Linked DNA regions of Homo sapiens: all the other regions are linked to region 2. Evidence: promoter capture Hi-C in 16 types of primary human blood cells and fetal thymus (Javierre and others, 2016). All regions are on one chromosome and are shown on one strand. The core of a region is centred on a gene start or on the middle of the fragment in contact, and the rest is flanking DNA. Distances in the headings are between cores, read along the strand shown. Region 1 has its middle 15 kb from the start of ELN. Region 2 holds the start of VPS37D (VPS37D subunit of ESCRT-I). Region 3 overlaps ELN (elastin). Region 4 has its middle 68 kb from the start of ELN. Region 5 overlaps FKBP6 (FKBP prolyl isomerase family member 6 (inactive)).

Evidence for each region. The method cuts DNA at HindIII sites, captures the fragments that hold promoters and counts their contacts. A CHiCAGO score of 5 or more calls a contact.
Region 1: a fragment that was not itself captured here is called in contact with the fragment with the promoter of VPS37D in region 2 in 1 of 17 cell types (M1 macrophages); the score reaches 5.7 in M1 macrophages.
Region 3: a contact is called between a fragment that was not itself captured here and the fragment with the promoter of VPS37D in region 2, in 2 of 17 cell types (endothelial precursors and erythroblasts). The highest score is 6.3, in endothelial precursors.
Region 4: a contact is called between a fragment that was not itself captured here and the fragment with the promoter of VPS37D in region 2, in 2 of 17 cell types (M1 macrophages and erythroblasts). The highest score is 6.5, in M1 macrophages.
Region 5: a fragment that was not itself captured here is called in contact with the fragment with the promoter of VPS37D in region 2 in 1 of 17 cell types (erythroblasts); the score reaches 6.1 in erythroblasts.

The regions. Positions count from the first base shown.
Region 1 is chr7:74,011,565-74,014,384 of GRCh38, reverse strand. No RefSeq gene overlaps it. Among named protein-coding and RNA genes, the nearest start is that of ELN, 15 kb to the left of the region's middle. RefSeq lists an enhancer at 1,192-1,511. The HindIII fragment of the contact is 3,005 bases long and covers 62-2,820 here.
Region 2 is chr7:73,666,422-73,669,121 of GRCh38, reverse strand. VPS37D (VPS37D subunit of ESCRT-I) reads right to left here and starts at 1,291. Exons shown (of 4, transcript NM_001077621.2): 1 at 1,026-1,291. The coding sequence starts at 1,163. RefSeq lists an enhancer at 134-1,129 and silencers at 1,111-1,410, 1,521-1,620, 1,631-1,680. The HindIII fragment of the contact is 11,431 bases long and covers 1-2,700 here.
Region 3 is chr7:74,037,376-74,040,075 of GRCh38, reverse strand. It overlaps ELN (elastin), which reads right to left. Exons shown (of 33, transcript NM_000501.4): 4 at 2,337-2,369. Among named protein-coding and RNA genes, the nearest start is that of ELN, 11 kb to the right of the region's middle. The HindIII fragment of the contact is 961 bases long and covers 855-1,815 here.
Region 4 is chr7:73,958,406-73,961,110 of GRCh38, reverse strand. No RefSeq gene overlaps it. Among named protein-coding and RNA genes, the nearest start is that of ELN, 68 kb to the left of the region's middle. The HindIII fragment of the contact is 1,484 bases long and covers 703-2,186 here.
Region 5 is chr7:73,341,585-73,344,284 of GRCh38, reverse strand. FKBP6 (FKBP prolyl isomerase family member 6 (inactive)) reads right to left here. Exons shown (of 9, transcript NM_003602.5): 8 at 1,386-1,478. The coding sequence ends at 1,388. Among named protein-coding and RNA genes, the nearest start is that of FKBP6, 15 kb to the right of the region's middle. RefSeq lists an enhancer at 1,226-2,170. The HindIII fragment of the contact is 1,095 bases long and covers 837-1,931 here.

The DNA.
Region 1 (2,820 bases), core at 315-2,814, 340 kb before region 2:
GTGAAGGAGCAGGGTCTGTATGTTTTCTGGACCAGGTGGGCTCGGAGAAGGCCCTGAAGCTTCTGTCAGATGAGAGGGGCCCCAGGAGGTGAGTCCCGACCCTGCGGCAGAGCCACTCCCTGGGGTCCAAGTGAACCTCCACCGCCCGCCAGGCCCCATGTTCTAGCTTCAATCATGTCCACCGCCCTGGCTGGGCCCCAGCCAAGCCCTCACTCGCTGGTGAGGGCCAAGCCGAGGCTGTGCCAGGCTCAGCGGAGGCCCTTGGCCAAGAACAGCAGAGCCATTCTCAGGAAAGCTGAGGGATTAAGCTGGGAGGCCAGCAGGGATTCAGGTATCCGCCCTCTGCCCCAGCTTGGCCATGGGAGGCAGGGCGACCTCACAGTTGTAAAGCAAAGGGACTGACCAGAGCCACCCACCCGGGGACCTGAGGACACAGTGTGGCCTGGACCAGCTCGCTCCTGCGGCCGCCTCTGGGGAGGAGTCGAGATCACATGGACTGATGCTGAAGGACTCTGGCCTAGGACCTGTCCCTGATCTCAGGCCCGCCCTGCCCTGGTGTTGGAATCTTAGCTCCTCTGGGTCTCCTGGGGGCTGTGCTCACCTGGAGGGATGGGTAGGATGACGTGGATGCCTCAGTGCAGACAGTCCCTTCTGCTGGGGCCACCTTTGTGTCTGGCAGGGCTAGTATGGGGCGGACAGGCCTGGCCATGGCTGCTGGGCTGTAGTGGCAGAGGTGATTGGGGTCAGAGGGCTATATGTGTCTGCCCAGCCCCTGGGGGGAGGGTCTCCAGCTTGGCTCTGGTAGGGGTCCCTAAACTCCTGGGGCTCTCTCTCTTCCACCTCCCCCTGTGGAGGGGCTTCTGTTCCCTGACTCCCCCTGGGTAGAATGTGGTTCCCGCATCCCTGTCCTGTCCAAATCCAACCCACACTCAGGACTTGCTTGCCTCTAGGGACCCCAGACTGGGCCATGTGCTTGCACCTGCTCCCAGCCCCCTATTCTCCCCCCAGGGTGACACTGGCTGCACTGAACTGCTACCATCTGCAGACAGCCCTGTCTCTCTCGCACTGGAGCCCACCTCAGGCAGGGCCGCCCCCTTCTCTTCTCCAATCTCCCTCTCCCCACTTGGCTAATTCCAATGTCCCTGGGCCATGCTGGCCGCTGGCTGGGCCCCGCCAGAGCAGGTGGCTGCCTGACCTGGCCTGGTCCCCGTCTGGGCCGCCTCTAGGCCCCTCCCTATGGGCCCAGGCTGATGGGGGTGTCTGCAGGGATGCTGACTCAGATGTTATTTTGGGCTCCCCTTGGGCCCGGCGGGCTCTGGGGCCTCAGGCCTGTTTAGACGGCTGGGCCGGATGTGACTGATTCCAGGCCCCTGGGCCTCCACCTACTGGGTGAGAGCCAGGCCAAGGTAGACGCTCTGGGCAGGGGGCAGGCAGGTCGGGCAGGCCTCGCGGGTCCAGAGATCCCAGGTCCAGCCCAGCTTCCCTCCTGCACTCCAGCTGCCTGGAGGCCCCGCCTTCCTCACACCTCATTCACAGCCCCAGGGGTTCCAGCTGAGGGCCTGAACCTGGGGGCTGCCATCCTAGGCACTGAGAGGTCATTTTCTTTTTCTTTTTTCTTTTTTTTGGGACAGAGTCTCACTCTGTCGCCCAGGCTGGAGTGCAGTGGCATGATCTTGATTCACTGCAACCTCCTCCTCCTAGGTTCAAGTGATTCTCCTGCCTCAGCCTCCCAAGAAGCTGGGATTACAGGCGGCTGCCACCACATCTGGCTAATTTCTGTATTTTTGCTAGAGACGGGGGTCTCACCATGTTGGCCAGGCTGATCTTGAACTCCTGACCTCAAGTGATCTGCCTGCCTCGGCCTCCCAAAGTTCTGGGATTATAGGCGTGAGCCACTACGCCCAGCCCTGGAGGATTTTCAGTCCCAGAATCCCTGAATGAGATTGCCAGCTGGAGAGAGCCAGTCTCCAAGGGCATAGCCTCAGTATCCCCTCGGCCCCAGATACACACCTGTGCCCCCAAGGTAGGGGACTCGAGGCCCAGAGACGCAGAGACAGGCCCATTCCAACCTGGGTCTCTAACTCCCAGAATATGCGCCCTCTTCAAAGCTGCTCAGCGGAAGACCAAGGGACAAGTCCCCTGGGCTCCCCAAGCCCCACATGGGCTCTGCGCCGGGTGTCCCTGGCTTTAAGAACACTCCCTCTGTTCAGTGGGTCTCGGCTTCCTCATCTGTCAAAGCCACTGTTCGGGCTCCATTGGGAGCCCACGGGCCAGGACGACCTCCAGATTTGCTGTTGTAAAGTGGCCACCCAGGCAGGGGCAGCTGGTGCTGCTGGTCTTGGGGGCAGAGCTTCACCATCCACCCCCCCCGGAGTAATATATAATTCTATTATTTGTGTTCTGAGAAGCTGGCTGTTATATCTAGAGGCTTGATTAAGGTAATATTCTGGCTGGGCACAGTGGTTCACACCGGTAATCCCAGCACTTTGGGAGGCCTATGCGGACGGATCACCTGAGGTCAGGTGTTTGAGACCAGCCTGGCCAACATGGCGAAACCCCATCTCTACTAAAAATACAAAAAATTAGCCAGGCATGGTGGTGCACTCCTGTAATCCCAGCTACTTGGCTGAGGCAGGAGAATCATTTGAACCCGGGAGGTGGAGGTTGCAGTGAGCCAAGATCGTGCCATTGCACTCCGGCCTGGGCAACAAGAGCAAAACTCCATCTCAAAGTAAATAAATAAATAAATAAATAAATAAATAAATAAATAAAATTAAAGAAAATAAAGTAATATTATTTCTTGGTCACCCAGCCTGGATT
Region 2 (2,700 bases), core at 42-2,541:
AAATGTTAGTTAATTTTTAATTTTTCAATTAATATGTCTGCTCAGGTCCCGGAGGAGTGCCCCTCCCTCCTCTGCCCCATTTTCCATGCATGGACAGCTTCCCTCTCACTCCAGGCCTTTGTCTGTTTCCTCCTCAGGTGTTTGCACCGAAAACACTCCCACCCCCTGCTCATCCTCTCCAGAGGGGTGTCTGCACCCCGTCCCCTCACAGCACCCCCTCGGGTCACCCTCTCTTCCCTTCCCACCCCTTCCTCTGCCTCCAGTGGAATCCTCACACCCCAAGGAATACACACCCCCTTTTCCTCCCTGCTCCGGGCTTACAGCAGCCCCGGCCCTGGAGAAGGCTTTTTCCTTGTCTCTAGCAGGGCCCAACCTCCCCTCCCTGCCCCTGGAGAACGCACTCCCCTCCATCTGTCCCTTGTGGGATGCACAAGCCCCTCCTCGCCTGCCTGCTTTCAACACACACTTGCCCTTTCTGCCCCCCACAGACAACCAGCCCGGGCCTATCTCCCGTGAAATATACAACTTTCTCTTACGGTGGCCTATGCAATACACACGGCAGCTTCCAGCACCCCTCCCCAACGCCAGGCACAAAGCCCCCTCTTGCGCCCCCAGAATGCGTGAACCCCCAACGGCCCCTCCAGGTGTCAGACAGGCCCCTAGTTCTCCCAGTGGAAGGCGCCTCCTCTTTCTGGCCCTTACAGAACGTGGGTGTGCGAGCCAGGGCCCCCCACAACACAGCCCCCCGGAACACACCTCCCCGGAGCATCCGCTGTAGGACACGCCTCGCGGCCATCCTGGGGGTGCACAGGCGCCCCCCTCGGGTCCCCGGCGCCCCACCCGCCCCAGGCCAGCTCCAAGCGCCCCCTCCCCCGGGGGTGGCTCCGCGGGGCCCACTCGTACGTGCCAGGCTCCGCGCCCACGGGCGGCCCCGCGGCCCGGCCCGCGCGGCCCTTCCCTCGAGCGGCAGGTCCCGCAGGCCGCTGCCCGTCCCCCGCGCCCCCCGCTCGAGCCCCCCGCGCTACCTTCCTGCTGAGCCGCACGATCCGGTCCAGCTTGGGCTCATCCTGAAGCAGGTCCCGGAGCTGCCCGGTGCTGAGGATCCCAAAGCGCCCCGGGCTGCCGGGCTCCGGCCCCGCCCGCGCCGCCCGGGCCCGGTACATGCCGCCCGCCCGCGCCCCCAGCTCGGCTGCTGGCTCGGCCCGCTCGGCCCGCTCCGCCCCGGCTCCGCTCCGCTCCGCTCCGCTCCGGCTCCAGGATCCGCTCCGGCTCCGGCCGCACGCACCGCTCCGCCGCCAGGGGGCGCCCCTCCCGCTCTTAAAGGAGCCGCGGCGCCGGGGCTGGGGGTGGGGCAGGGAGGAGGCGGGCCGCACCCCTCCCCGCCCCGGCCGCGCCGCGCCGCCTCCAGCACCCCAGGATCGCCCAGCAACCCGATCTCCCCGCCCCTCCCGGAATCTGAGCCGCCCTGCTCTGCGCCCCAGCACCGGCCCTGGCTCACCACGCCCCCAGGCACGGACTCTCCCACCCCGGGCGGTTACAATTTGCAGAGCCCGTGCACGTTTTCCCCTCGGATGGCAACAACAAATTTCTGACTTTGGCCGGGCGCCGAGGGCTCCTGCCTTGCAGCCCTCCCCAAGCCTCAGTTTTCTCTTCTGTAAAATGGGGTTGGAGATGGTGAGCGCTGACTTGCTGGCCGGGCGCGGTGGCTCTCTCCTGTAATTCCAGCGATTTGGGAGACCGAGAAGGGAGGATCGCTTGAGGCCAGGAGTTTGAGACCAGCCTGGGCAACATAACAAGACCCCCGTCTCTATTTAAAAAAATTTAAAAATTGTCAAAAGGGTGAAAAGAGGCCGGGCGCGGTGGCTCACGCCTGTAATCCCAGCACTTTGGGAGGCCGAGGCGGGCGGATCACGAGGTCAGGAGATCGAGACCATCCTGGCTAACATGGTGAAACCCCGTCTCTACTAAAAATACAAAAAAAATTAGCCGGGCGTGGTGGCGGGCGCCTGTAGTCCCAGCTACTCGCGAGGCTGAGGCAGGAGAATGGCGTGAACCCGGGAGGCGGAGCTTGCAGTGAGCGGAGATCGCGCCACTGCACTCCAGGCTGGGTGACAGAGCGAGACTCCGTCTCAAAAAAAAAAAAAAAAAGAGTGAAAAGAACAATTTTTAAAAGTATTTAAATGCTTTTAAAAAGTATCCGGACATGGTGGCATGCGTCTGTAGTCCTAGCTACTCAGGAGGCAGAGGTGGGAGATTGCTTGAGCTCAGTTTTGAGACCAGCCTGGGCAACACAGCAAGACCCCATCTCTATAAAAGTAAAATTAAAATGCTGAGGGATAGTGATATGGCTAGCAATGTTATAATGAATACACATAGTAGGTCAATACCCACTTGTTATTTTAGACATGCAGAAGCATCACAGAGGCCGGGCACGGTAGCCCATGCCTGTAATCCCAGCACTTTGGGAGTCCAAGGTGGGTGAATCATTTGAGGTCAGAAGTTTGAGACCAACCTGACCAACAAAAATTAGCCGGGCGTGGTGGTGGGCGCCTGTAATTCCAGCTACTCAGGTGGCTGAGGCAGGAGAATCGCTTGAACCTGGGAGGCGGAGGTTGTAGTGAGCCGAGATAGCACCACTCCACTCCAGCCTGGGCGACAGAGACTCCGTGCTCCGTCTCAAACAAAGAAAAAAAAGAAAAA
Region 3 (2,700 bases), core at 86-2,585, 370 kb before region 2:
GGCCTGACCACTTCTGTCTCTGCCTGCCCTCCTTCCTTTGCACTCACCTGCCCCAAATGCCCCAAGGATTCTAGCATCTGGAAAGGAGGAGAAAGCGGGGAGGGGCTGACCACAGCTGGGAGTCCAGGGACCTGGCCAGCTCCATCCTCCTTCTTTCTAGAGTCAGAGAGTTCTAGATTCAGACCCTGCTGCTGCTACCCAGCCTCCATGAGCACAAGCAGGTCAATTTGCCTCTCCGATGAGGCTTAGTTTTTGCCATCTACAAAATGGCCATTATATCACCTGCCTTGCTGGGACCAGTGAGCATGTGTGCAGAAAGCACCTAGTTGTGCAACCTACCCAGGGCACACAGTGGGTGCTCCCAGTTCCTTCTTGTCCATGCCCGTGCCCCTCTCAGTGGGCGGCTGGCCTCTGGCTAGTGCTCAGGGTGTTGGGTGTGCAGGCTTCCAGCTGCCTGGTCCCCCGCTGAGAGCTGAGGCAGGGCAGGGCCAGCTTGGACCTGTGGTGGCGCCCACGTGGAAAAGCAGCTGCCAGGCCACCCACCCTCTGTCACCAAGGGATTAATTGTTCCCAAGCATGACACGCGCTGCCTGTGCTCCATTCCATCCTGCCTGGGCAGGCCCAGACGTCCTGGCAGCCCGGATGTGGGGGCCTCCCTGGGGGTGCCATGGGGGCTCTGCCGACCCTTCTGTAGCCCTGAGTCTTCGGGGAGGTCATGGAATCCAGCCCCTTGCCTGGAAACACTGCCCTTTTTATCAGAAGGAGATGCTCTGACTTTCCTTTGGATTGACTCCTTCACCCTGAGCTGGAAGTTCTTTCAGAAGTCTAACCTAAATCTTTCATTAACAAAAGCTTCACTTTTGCAACTACACATCCTGGAACTTCGTAGGGAGTTGTCTGTCTTTCCTCTGGTGTTTAACCACAACCTGCTATGTGTCTCTTGCTCCTAGTGGGATCAATGAATGTACCCTCCAGCTTTGCAGGCACAACCTCCTCAATTTGGGTCTTCTAGGCCAAGCACAGACCTACCTCCACACCTCTGCACCACTATCATCTCCCCTGTCCTCTCTTCACCGTCAAAGACCCTGCTAAGAACCCTCACCTGCTCCAGGAAGACAGGGTATAGGTGCTGGCGGGGATAAGTGGCAAGCTCCCAGGGTCTCCTGGCCTTGCAGAGCCCTGTAGACCCCAGGCACCCCGTTCTCCCGCCTCTCCTGGCTCCAGCCCTGGTGTTTCACAACCCAGATGGACTTTTAGCGCAGGGGAATCTGGGTCTTGAAGATTCATTTGCACTTGGATTATCAACTATCAGGATTTCATAAGAGCTCTTGGACATCTAAACTGTGTCCTGGAGACTTGGGCTTCTGAGCCAGGGCAACACAGCTCAGGGTGTGGGGCGGCCAAAGTCACATGTGGAGCGTCTCATGCCGAGGGACCATCAATCTGGACAGAGACGCTGTTTCCTCCACCTGCTCCTTATCCGCCAGTATTTCCCGGAGGGACCTGCCCCACCTTCCTTCCTGGGGGTGCATTCCCCAGAGCTGAGAGTGGACCCTCGTGGCAGATCCCAGCCCCTTGGGCGAGGCCAGGATAGATCCGGCCACACCTTCTTACTGGAAAACTCCGTGGTCTGGACACAGCTGGAAAGGGCCTGAGATTAGGAGGGGAGCTTATCCGGGGCCATGGTCGGTGCTCAGCTTGGGCTTGGGGTCAGGGCTTGGCCTAAGGCCAGGATTGGGGGTCCTGTGGGACCAGGGTCAGCAGGGTCAGGGTTCAGCCTGGGATTAGGCTCAGGGCTTGGGCTGGGGTTAAGCTTTGGCTTGAGACCAGTGCTCCATCTGGAGTCAGGAGAAGGGCTCAGAATGGCATCAAGGTCAGGGTGATCTGGGGTATTGGTCTGGGGTCAAGGGCTAGGGGACCACTCAGGGGAAGTCTGGGGCTGAGGATCTGTGTCTGAGCTCCCGAGGGTCATGTAAGGCTTGGAGGCCACTGGAACCGGAGCAATCCCTGATGTTGCCTCTAACAGCCTCTCCTTTGCAGAGAGGAGTCTCTGGACAGCTGGGTGAACACACATGCACATGTAGGGTAGATGCTAGACGCCCTCACACAGGGAGGACATGGAGCTGCTTCCAGCCTCTTGTTCCTGGAAGCCCTGGGACCTGGCCCCGGCCTACTCATCCTTGGGAGGCTAATCGGTGTCCACACCTCCCTCCTTCCTCCTGCCCGTTGGCTTCCTTGTCCTGTTCCTAGTTTCCTTGTCCCATTCCCAGCTGGGTAGGCTCCTCCCTCCCCAGCTCCCTCGCTGTCTCTCAATGCTCCGAGGCCTTGGGTCTTACCTGGCTTAAGAGGTTTGCCTCCAGGCCCCAGCGCTGCAGAGGGAAGAGAAGATAGTGAATGGGGTGGCCCAGCTTATCCATCTACTACTTATCCAACCCCCAACCCGGGCAAAGTGTGGGCAGTGTGGAATCACACACCCCAGGTCCTCCCGCTCAGACTTGGAGCCCCTGGGAACCTAGCTCTACTTCTAACTCGTGGTTTATACTCTCTGAGTCCCAGAGTCTCAGCCTCAAAAGGGGATGATGGGCTGGGGGTGGTGGCTCACGCCTGTAATCCTAGCACTTTGGGAAGCTGAGGCAGGCGGATCATCTGAGGTCAGGAGTTTGAGACCAGCCTGGCAAACATGGTGAAACCCTGTCTCTA
Region 4 (2,705 bases), core at 195-2,694, 290 kb before region 2:
GAAAATGAACCAATAATGAAGAAAATCACTGATACCAAAAGCAGTTTCTTTGAAAAGTCCAAGTGTTGATGTATTCATTATCTATTGCTGTGTAGCAACACAACCACCGCAAACAGTGGCTTTAAACAACATGTATTTATTTTCTCATAGTTTCTGGGGGCCAGGAGTCCAGGCACAGCTTAGCTAGGTCCTCTGCTTCTAGCTCACTAAGTTGCAATCAAGGTGTCTCATCTGAGGCCAACTGGTGGAGAATCGACTTCTAACTCATGTGGTGGTTGACAGAATTCAGTTCCTTGCAGGCTGCTGGACCAAGAGCTTCAGTTTCCACCTGGCTGTCAGCCAGAGGCCACTCCCATCTCCTTGCCACATGGCAGCTTACTTCCTCAAAGCCATTAGGTGTATGGTGGGGAGGACAAGAGTGTCCTAGCAAGATGGATTATTATCTTACATAATGTAATCACATACACGTCATCATGTACATGCCTTCACCTGTGTTATATTCTATGATTTAGAAGCAAGTCACAAGTCACATCCACGCTCAAGGGGAGGCCACACAAAGGTGTGATGGCAGGAGGTGGGACTCATAGGGCCACCACAGTCTCTCACCACCACTGATAAGACTCAAGCTATATTCTTTAAACCAAAAATGGAGAATACTGCATTATCAATATTAGTCATGAAAGAAGAGACATTACTAAAGCTTCTGTGTACATGAAACAGATAATAAGGGAATGTTATGAGCAATAGCATGCCAGTACATTTGATAGCTCAAGTAGCATGGACAAATTCTTTGAAGACACAAATGACCAAAACTGGCTCAAGAATAAATAGAAGTTTAGAAGGAAAACATAGCGCTGTAAATTCCTATATTAAAAATGAAGCAAGATCTCAAATCAATAACCTAAACTTCTACCCTAAGAAACAAGAAAAAGAGGAACAAAGTTAAACTCAAAGCAAATACAAAGAAAGAAATAATATAGATTAAGGGGAAATAAATGAAATAGAGACAGAAAAGCAATAGAGAAAGCTAATGAAACCAAAAAGTTGGTTCTTCAAAAAGATCAACAAAATTCACAAATCTTTAGACTTGCCAAGAAAAAAAGAGAAAAAAATTCAAATTACTAAAATTGAGAATGGAAGAAATGACATTACTATTTTTTTTTTTTTGAGACGGAGTCTTGCTCTGTTGCCCAGGCTGGAGTGCAGTGGCACAATCTCGGCTCACTGCAACCTCTACCTCCTGGGTTCAAGTGATCCTCCTGCCTCAGCCTCCCAAGTAGCTGGGATTACAGGCACACGTCAACACAGCCGGCTAATTTTGTATTTTTAGTAGAGATGGGGTTTCACCATGTTGGCCAGGCTGGTCTCGAACCCCTGATCTCAGGTGATCCACCCGCCTCGGCCTCTCAAAGTGCTGGGATTACAGGTGTCAGCCACTGCGCCCAGCCAGGACATTACTATTAACCTTACAGAAGGATAGAGAATTATAAGGGAATACTATGAACAATTGTATCCCAGGGACAAATTCTTACAAAGCCTCAAGCTATTAGAACAGACACAAAAAGAAATTAAAAATCTCAAAATATCTATAACAAGAGATTGAATTAATAATTAAAACAAAACAAAACAAAGCAAAACAAACACAAAAGAACTCCTTGCAAAGAAAAACCCAGGACCAGATGGCTTCACTGATGATTTCTGCCAAACATTTAAAGAAGAATTAATATCAATCCTCCAAAAACCTTTCCAAAAATAGGGGGGAAATTTTCCAACTCATTCTGAGGTCCTGACACCAAAACCACACAAAGACAAAACAAGAAAAGAAAACTATAGACCAATAATTCTTACAAATAAAGACAAAAAAATTCTCAGCAAAATACTAGAAAATGAATTCACTAACATACAAAAAGGATTATATACCAATGATCAAGTGAGATTTATGCCAGGAATGTAAGTTTGCCTCAGTGTACAAAAATCAATGCAGTTAATACACCCTATTAATGGAATAAAAGGCAAAACCATATCATCGTCTCAATAGATGTAGAAAAAGCATTGTCAAAATCCAACACCCTTTTGTGATAAAAACAATCTCCAAACTAGGAATAGAAGGATAATTTCTCAACCTGAAAAAAGACATCCATAAAAACCCACCTATCATCATACACAGTGATGAAAGGTAGAAAGCTTTCTTCCTAAGATCAAAAACAAGACAAGAATGTCCCCTGTCAACACTTATATTCCACATTGCATCAGATGTTCTAGCCAGGGCAGGAGAAAGAAATAAAGGCATCCAGATTAGAAAGGATTAAGTATAACTGCCTCTATTTGCAGAGAATGTGGCCTTGTATAGAGAAAATCCTCAGGATTACACAAACACACAGACATATATACACACACACAACTATTAGAACTAATAAATGAGTTCAGCAAGGTTGTAGAATACAAGATAAATATATAAAAATCTGTTATATTTTTTGGAAATGAACAATCCAAAAAATTAGATTAAGAAAACAATTCCATTTATAATAACATAAAAATAAAATACTTAGGAATAAATTTAATAAAACAAGCACAAGACATACTCTGACAACCACAAAACACAGTTGAAAGAAATTAAAGAAGTCTTGATGGGGTGCAGTGGCTCACGCCTGTAATCTCAGCACTTTGGGAGACCAAGGCAGGTGGATCACCTGAGGTCAGGAGTT
Region 5 (2,700 bases), core at 135-2,634, 320 kb after region 2:
TGCTGCCCAGCTGGGCTGCCCAAGCCCTTGTCTGGGATGGACCCTGGCAGACCTGGGTCTTCATTCATGACAGGACTTGTGGGGTCACAGTCCAAAATGTTTGGCAAACAGTCACTGCCCTTCATTTTTACTGGATACTAGAAGTGACCAAACAAGGGAAGTCCTCTGGCTCACATCTCAGTTCTGAAGACCTGCAAATATGTACTCCAAAGGCCACTGAAAGACCTGAAGGCCAGGGTTCACATGGCCAGCATCAGTGACGAAGGCAACATTTACCTGTGATGCTGGTGGGCGCATCTGAAAGTGCAGATAGCAGCAGTTTATGGACCGCTATGAAAATGTCGGGGATGAATAGGCCTTTTCACTGCCTCCTCCTCTCAAGCCCCTTTTGTAGGGAGATGGAGGAAGCAACAAAGGAGAGATTTATCACCATGAGCCCGTTCAGCAGCTGTTTTCTTGTTGTTCCTTGTTTGACTTCTCCGAGAGAGCAGAGTTATCTGTGCAGCTAAGCAGGTGTTTCAGGCAGGTGATTTTGTTTCCATTAATTTTATTAAATAGTAGACCAGACTGGAGGGTTCAGACTGGAGGGTTATCTCATGTGCTTGGGAACTCCCGCCCTGTGCCTGCAAAATTACTAGGTGTGATCTTGGGAGGAATGCTATATTCCGCTCCCTGTTGCTTTCAGCATCTTCAAATCTCTAAGTCTAATAGAAAGTAGAATTTAAGAGCCACAGCCCATCCCCACCCTGCGATCTTGTCTGCTTTAGTAATGTGTTAGAGACACAGTCAAGTTGGAGGCTTTCGAGTTCTCAGGAGAAAGAAGATGAACAGAAGCTTGACACGTCAAAGCCCAGCTCTATCAACCATCACATTCATGACTCTACTCAGTCTCATGTTCCAAGCAACTGCAAGGAGAGTTTCACATAAAACATGAAAAAAAAAGGTTTTTTAAAAAATAAATTTAGGCTGAGCGCCACGGCTCACAGCTGTAATCTCGGCTACTCAGGAGGCTGAGGCAGAAGAATCGCTTGAACCTGGGAGGCGGAGCTTGCAGTGAGCTGAGATCGCACCACTGCACTCCAGCCTGGGCAACAGAGTGAGACTCTGCCTCAAACAAACAAACAAACAAATAAATAAATAAATAGCTCAAGGCCCCCTGAACCTATACATTTAACCCACAGGTCTGGGCGAACTTTCTTCTCACGGGAAAGGTAGGCGTGCAGCACGTGCATCCTGCACTACCGTTGTGTTGTTCTTTACAGCAAGGAACTTGTCTACCCCTCGTCCACCCTCAGCTGCAGACAGCCACCATTCACTTGGGGGTGGAGGAGAGCAGCACGCTTCTCCATCCGGAAGCCTGTGTGCCACCCTGGCCCTTTGATTACCTTCAACTTTCTCCTGCTGTAGAACCATCGCCACAGGGCGCGAACATGCGGTGCCACATTTCTTTCTCTTTATCCACATAGTCCCTGTAACAGCTGGAGAGGGAAATACACACTTGTTAGAGGAGGTCTGTGTTTGGAGGAGGTGACATCTGGTGGCTGGAATTCTCCACTCACATCCAGAAACACTGAAAATTTATCAGGACTCAAACTGAGTTGGGAGGGATGGAAGTAAGCTGGAGAGGTGGGGAGGCAGGGAAGGCTCCCACAGCTGGCCAAGGAGCCAAGCCCCTGGACAAAACCCCCTAACTGGAAAGGACAGCTGCCTTGAAGGGCAGGTGCCTCTGGCCACCAGGCTCCGGGCTGAGTCTCGCCAAACGACCCCTCACCCTCAGCAGCCTCTAACCTCTCCTGATTTTCTCACTAAAGAATGACCAGATCTGACAGGATACTTTTAAATACCAGAAAGGAAATTGCTGGCAAGTCCTAAAAGGCTTGAAATGTAACCTAAGAGATACTCACATCTCAGACACTAATGCCAAGCAAGCTTTAACTAGCAATCTGGACCGAATGTTTAATATTAAGACAAGTAGAGAATTTCACCATTACAGAAGAAGATATACCTTAAAAACCATGGACCTATTACCAAGTGATGGAGTTATGGGGGACTCCTATTTATAGGTAGACATTTTCAAGGTTTTCTACAATGGACACAAAACTTCTATAATGAGAAAAAATTACATCACTAAAAGACTGGTGTGCTTAGTCACGTGGGTAACAAGGAGGTCAATCCATGGGTATGAGTCAGACCCGAAACGCCTGTTTCTGGTCACATGAGGACCTACGAGGGGCCTTTCTGCACTTGGTTAGGAGCAGTGGTTCTTGGTGGAGCACGCAGGGAAGAGCGCACCAGAAGACTCTTTTTAAGTGACACCGGGGCCAGTTGTGGTGGCTTGTGCCTGTAATCCCAGCACTTTGGAAGGACGAGGTGGGGGGATCACCTGAGGTCAGGAGTTTGAGACCAGCCTGGTCAACACGGTGAAACCCTGTCTCAACTAAAATACAAAAACAATTAGCCAGATGTGGTGGTACACGCCTGTAATCCCAGCTACCTTGGAGGCTGAGACAGGAGAATCGTCTGAACTCGGGACGCGGAGGTTGCAGTGAGCCGAGATCATGCCATTGCCCTATAGCCTAGGTGACAGAGAGGGACTCCATCTCAAAAAAAAAAAAAAAAAGTGACACCCTCCCACCTCTCTAGGGGTTGTTTATTTGCGGTAGGGGAAACAGAAAGGTGGGCGATGATGGAGATGTATAG